Regions from separate parts of the Homo sapiens genome. Here region 2 is linked to region 1. Evidence: promoter capture Hi-C in human tissues and cell types (Jung and others, 2019). All regions are on one chromosome and are shown on one strand. The core of a region is centred on a gene start or on the middle of the fragment in contact, and the rest is flanking DNA. Distances in the headings are between cores, read along the strand shown.

What was found. Contacts are between HindIII fragments. The study calls those that stand out against the background at their distance.
Region 2: the fragment with the promoter of ALOX15 here is called in contact with the fragment with the promoter of SMTNL2 in region 1 in 9 of the 25 tissues and cell types used here (IMR-90 fibroblasts, bladder, dorsolateral prefrontal cortex and 6 more).

What each region holds. Positions count from the first base shown.
Region 1 is chr17:4,583,158-4,585,857 of GRCh38, forward strand. SMTNL2 (smoothelin like 2) reads left to right here and starts at 1,372. Exons shown (of 8, transcript NM_001114974.2): 1 at 1,372-1,847. The coding sequence starts at 1,449. RefSeq lists enhancers at 491-1,110, 1,111-1,730, 2,351-2,700. The HindIII fragment of the contact is 15,336 bases long and covers 1-2,700 here.
Region 2 is chr17:4,640,336-4,643,035 of GRCh38, forward strand. ALOX15 (arachidonate 15-lipoxygenase) reads right to left here and starts at 1,343. Exons shown (of 14, transcript NM_001140.5): 1 at 1,182-1,343. The coding sequence starts at 1,316. The HindIII fragment of the contact is 22,491 bases long and covers 1-2,700 here.

The DNA.
Region 1 (2,700 bases), core at 122-2,621:
CACCCTGTCCAGATGGCTACCTGGAATGCACACACATGCTCACACATATATGCAGCATGCACACCTTTTGGCATTTGCCTTTTTCATGAAATAATTGCTGGAAGGCTCCTTGGATTAGGTAACCCAGCGTTCCTTCCTGTCCCCTTGGGGCTGGGGGCGGGGGAGAGAACCAGCATTTAGCATCTGTCAGGCTGCTCCAGTTCCTTTGGGGCAATGATGGCCAGTCCAGGAGGGTTTGTGGGCTCCAAACAACCTTGGGAGCAGAACATGATATGAACAAGCCTTTCAGACTTCTCCTTCCTGCAGGTCAGCTGGCTATGCATGCCCAGCCTCTGGGCCTCTTTCAGGCAGGCCAGGCTTGGGAAAAAGAAGGCCAATTAGGAAAGGTTTTTTGCACAAAGGAGGATATGTTCTCATTTTTATTTTAAATCAGCTTTATGATATAGCGAAAACTTAGAGTTAGCTTTGCCCATCATCCCATCGTCCTAAAGCAACACCTGTTTCCCTTCTTCCCTTTTCTGGTGATGGTTTGGGGTGTGCATTTGGAAGGGGGAACTATCTGGGTTCAGCCATAAAGAGCATTGAGAAGGAATAGGGGTAAGACCCCTGGCCTACGGGTAGAGGCCAGTGACTGAGACTCTCATTGCGGGAGGGGGCGATTAGTCGCAAAGCCGCCCATTCCAGGATTTGGAGATGCAGCTCCAGCACACCCTTCTTTCTCTGTCTGCCCTTAGCCTCTCCAGGATCTCCTAACGGAGGCCCCTTGGTGGGTCGGGAGCCTCTACCGACCACTAGTGGGAAGGGCACGAAGATCTTGCTATACAGAGTAGGACTGGGAGGGGACAGCGCGTAGTCGCAGAGTCAGGGAGGGGACCTCACCACCTGTCTCCTCCCTGAGGTCTTAGAACAGATACAAGAAATTCCAGGCGAAGGTCCCACAGGTGAGCGTGTGCCTGCGAGAGCCGTGGCCGCTGCATAGGGAGGGCCCCGCGGAGTGGGGCGGCAGCTGTGGGAGCTGTAGGTGTCCCCATTAGCCCGGGAGTCTCCGCCCCCGGAGGAACCTGGGCCTTGCGGGTGAGAGTCCCGAGCGAACGCGTCAGCCCGGGTGTGCTCTCTACGGTCCAGGGGGGCCAGGGCCTTCTTCGGGTGGGCCCGCCGCCCCTCCCGCAGGCCGCACGCCGCTCCTCCGGGGTCGCAGGGCTCAGTTAAGAGCCGGGGAGGGGAGAGGCTGGGCGAGCTCTCCCTCCGCACCGTCCCGCTGGGCTCCAGGGCAGGGGGGTGTCCCGGAGTCGTCCCCGGCTCCGCCCCCGAGGCCCCGCCCCGCGCCCGCCTCCCCGGCAGCCCCTCGAGCGAAGCCAGCCACGGACGGCCAGTCGCGGCCCGGAGCTGCGGAGCTCGGATCTTCTCCCCCGTCTGGCCCGCTCTCGACCCGCGCGCTCTGCTGGGCCATGGAGCCGGCCCCCGACGCCCAGGAGGCGCGCACTGTGCGCGAGGCGCTGGGCCGCTACGAGGCGGCGCTGGAGGGTGCGGTGCGCGCGCTGCACGAGGACATGCGGGGGCTGCAGCGCGGCGTGGAGCGGCGAGTGGCAGAGGCGATGCGCCTGGCCGGCCCCCTGGCGCGCACGGTGGCCGACCTGCAGCGGGACAACCAGCGGCTGCAGGCGCAGCTCGAGCGCCTGACGCGCCAGGTGGAGGCGCTGGGCTTGGCCAGCGGGATGTCCCCGGTGCCCGGCACTCCCGGCACGCCCAGCCCCCCGCCCGCGCCCGGGGTTCCCGACCGCGCGCCCCGCCTGGGCAGCGCACGCTTCGCCAGCCACGCCACCTTCTCGCTGTCCGGCCGCGGCCAGGTGAGCCCGGGGGAGCGCGTGCGCTGGCGCCAGGGAGTGGGGCTCCGAACCGGGTGCCGCCCCTTCGCCCCGACTGCCTGCCTCTGCTCGCGTCTGCGGGGTTGGGGCCTTCACCGGCCGCTCGGACTAGGTGATGGGGGTCCTGCCGCCCCTCCGGAGTTGGAGAGGGCGGGGGGAGGACCGCTGAGCCTGCCAGCTGCACCTGTCTTGGTCCTCCGCCCTGTTTTAGAGCCAGGCTCTGTTTGCTCAGAGTCCTGTCTCCCTCTCTCCTCTGTCCCATGACATCAACGGCTTGGGCGCCGAAGTCCGGCCCCTGACTGTTCAGCACTGCCTGGAGCCACGCGGGGCATGTTGGAATGGTCGACACCCCTGCCTGACCCCCACCCTCCATTCACGCTCCCCTGCGTTGCCGCTTCACTGAGGCCTGACGGCTCTGGTTATTGATTAACTCAGATTGAGAACTCAGGCCCCTGGATGGGTGGGGAGGGGGGTCGAGGGGGACGCGATCAGCAGCGGCTTTTGGGAACTCTCCATCGCAGGGGGTAAATCCCTTACCGTGAAGGGAGAGAGGTGGAAACCCGCCTTGAGCCGTGTCTAGATTCCTCGGGTCAGTGACTAGCCAGAGGCCCACACCACGTGGGGATAGGGCGGAGGCCGACGTGGACCAGTCACTACCTTGCGCATGGGCCACCCAGAGCAGTTAGAATGTGTCCATGGTGTGTGCAGTGGCCCTTGGGTGGGATTTTCCATCCTGATCAGGCATGTGCTCTCGGGTTGGGTTCCCAGGATCTGGGGCTGTGTAGCCTGCACCTGCTCCCTCCTTGGTGCAATCCCTGGGGCTCTCAGATTTCCC
Region 2 (2,700 bases), core at 93-2,592, 57 kb after region 1:
GTGGCGAGGCCGCTGGAGGTTTGAAATGGCTTTTAAAATAGAGAAACCGGGAGGACCGACGACCGCTCCGGCGACCGCAGTTTCCAGGCACCAGAGCTGTGTGGAATGAGGGGCGCTCAGGAGCATCCCCTTAATTCCAAGGAGATCGAGTAGCGGGAACATTTATTGAGCCTTTACTGTGTGTCACCAACTGCCCACCATAGGGAGGAAAAAAGGGAGGAGGGAGCGCGCCTTTCCACCTTCCGTGCCCCGTCCCCTCACCATGGAGTCGCGGGGCCACCTGCTCCGTGCGCATTTTCTCTCTTCCTGGCTCCCTTTGCCCCGCTTTCTCGGAAGCTCGGAGCAAGGGCGTGGAGTGCGGGGAGCAGGGCTCCGCAGGTTCAAGAGGACGCGGGCGGTCGGGGGCGGGACGGATATTGGGCAGGGACGCGGGAGATGCTCAGGGTCTAGAACTGACTGCGCCGGATTCTTGTTTAGAGGGAGGTGAAGAGAGGAAGGAGGCGCGGGTGACACCGGGGGAGGCAGGAGGAGAGGGCTGGGAGGTGGGGAGAGGGGAGGACCTCATCCGGGCATGTTGCTTTGACGTTCCCTGAGACAGACATCCGGATTTGGGGATCTGGGAGAGAGCTAGAGCAGTGATGGGAATTTGGGCTTTCGCGGAAGAAAAAAAGTTAACAGGACCGGGTAGAACACCCGGTAGATGTGACATGAGATATGACGGGAGGTGGGTCGGGAAATCGAGAGCGTTCTCCTGTCTTGACTCCCCATCCCTTCCCTCTCACCACCCACTCCACCCCAGGTGATAAAGCCTGAAAGGTAGAGATCCAACAGCGCTAGCGGTTGAAACGGTTTTTAAAATAGAGAAAGCGAGAGGACCGACGGCGGCTCCAGTGACTGCTGAGTTTCCAGACAAGGGAGCTTTGTGCAATGAGGGGCGCACAGGAGCATGCCCTCAATTCCAAGGAGATCGGGTAGCGGCAACATTTATTGAGCGCTTACTGTGTGCCACCGACTGCCCTAAAGCCCCCCACCCCCGTGGCCTCCGCGCGCTTTGAGCCCAATGCGCGGGCCCTTGGCAAAGAGAATCGGCCAGAGGCCAACGGGGGCGCATGTCCTCCCCGGTATTTGACTGACTCGGAGCCAGGGGCGCAGCCCACCCCGCCCGGCTCTGGGGAGCTCACCTTGCCCCGTGCGGGCCACAGTCGCTTCCCGAGCGCCGCCTCCCCGTGCTGGCCGACCAGCCACAGCTGCACCTGGTTGTTGGAACCGGCATAGAGCGAGGCCCCAGTGGACACGCGGATGCGGTAGAGACCCATCTTGCTCAAAGATGTTTCGCTCCTTCTGGTGGAGAAGGGTGGACGAGCTAAATAACCCAGCCTGAGACCCCGCCCTCTCGGAGGTCGCTTGGGGTCGGAATGTGGGTGGCAGGTCTCCAATCAACTCCGCCTACCGCTGGGGCCCCCAGCTCCAAGGAGCAGAGCTTCAAGGGGCAGAATTCAGCCCCAGTCCAAAAGGCGGTGTCCTGGCGAGAGCAGGGAGTGGAAACCACTATCTTGACGGGAGGGAGAAAAAGAAAAGGATTTGGACCGAAAACACGCAGGAAGAGGGAATCAACGCCTGGTACAGCAGGCAGGCGAGGTGGGGGTAGGAGTTATGCACGTGTGTACCACGGACTTTGGGCCAAGCCTGGGTGGCTGGGAAGCCAACCTCCATCTAAACGCACGCGTGCACACACACACACACGCAAGGACACGCGCGCGCACACACAAGCCTCACAAGTTGGATTGCAGGAGAGGGTGAAGTGGGCGAGGAGACCCAGTTTGCAGTGGCATTTGAGGAAGGTACATTCAGGCCACGGAATTCATTCGACCAGCTTTGCACACTTGCCTTCTCTGTGCCAGCCACTGGGACTCATTCCTTTTGAGCATAAAAGCCGCTGCCTCCCTGTTGCCTGCAGAATAAAAGTCCAAATGTTTCTGGCATTCAATGCCCTTGCTAACCTGACCTGCTCTCCTCACCTCTCATCCCACTGCACCCTGGCATCTCCTGTGCTGGAGCCATGTGTTCCCCGGAACCCCCCCTCCCCCCGCCGCCCCTGCTGTTCTCTCAAAGAACTCACTTCTGGGTTAGTCTGGTCATGCTTCTAAACCCTAATTCGTCTCCAGTTTCTTTTTGGGCTGGAGCCATGTGTTCCCCAGAACCCCACCTGCTGTTCTCTCAAAAGAACTTGCTCCTGGATTAGTCTATTCATCTATTCATGCTTCTAAACCCTAGTTCACCTCCGGTTTCTCAGGAAAGTCTTACCCGGTACTTTCACCCCCCACCACCCCACCAGAGTGAATTAGCTTTCCTTTTTTTTTTTTTTTTGAGATATAGAGTCTCACTCTGTCACCCTGGAATGCAGGGTGGAGTGCAATGGCACGATCTCGGCTCACGGCAACCTCTGCCTCCCGGGCTCAAGCAATTCTCTGCCTCAGCCTTCCGAGTAGCTGGGATTACAGGCGCCTGCCACCATGCCTGGATAATTTTTGTATTTTTAGTAGAGACGGGGTTTCTCCATGTTGGCCACGCTGGTCTTGAACTCCTGACCTTGTGATCCACCCACCTCAGTCTCCCAAAGTGCTGGAATTACAGGTGTGAGCCACGGCGCCCGGCCCAGCTTTCCTTTCTAACACTTTTCTCCTTGCGCACACTTCTACT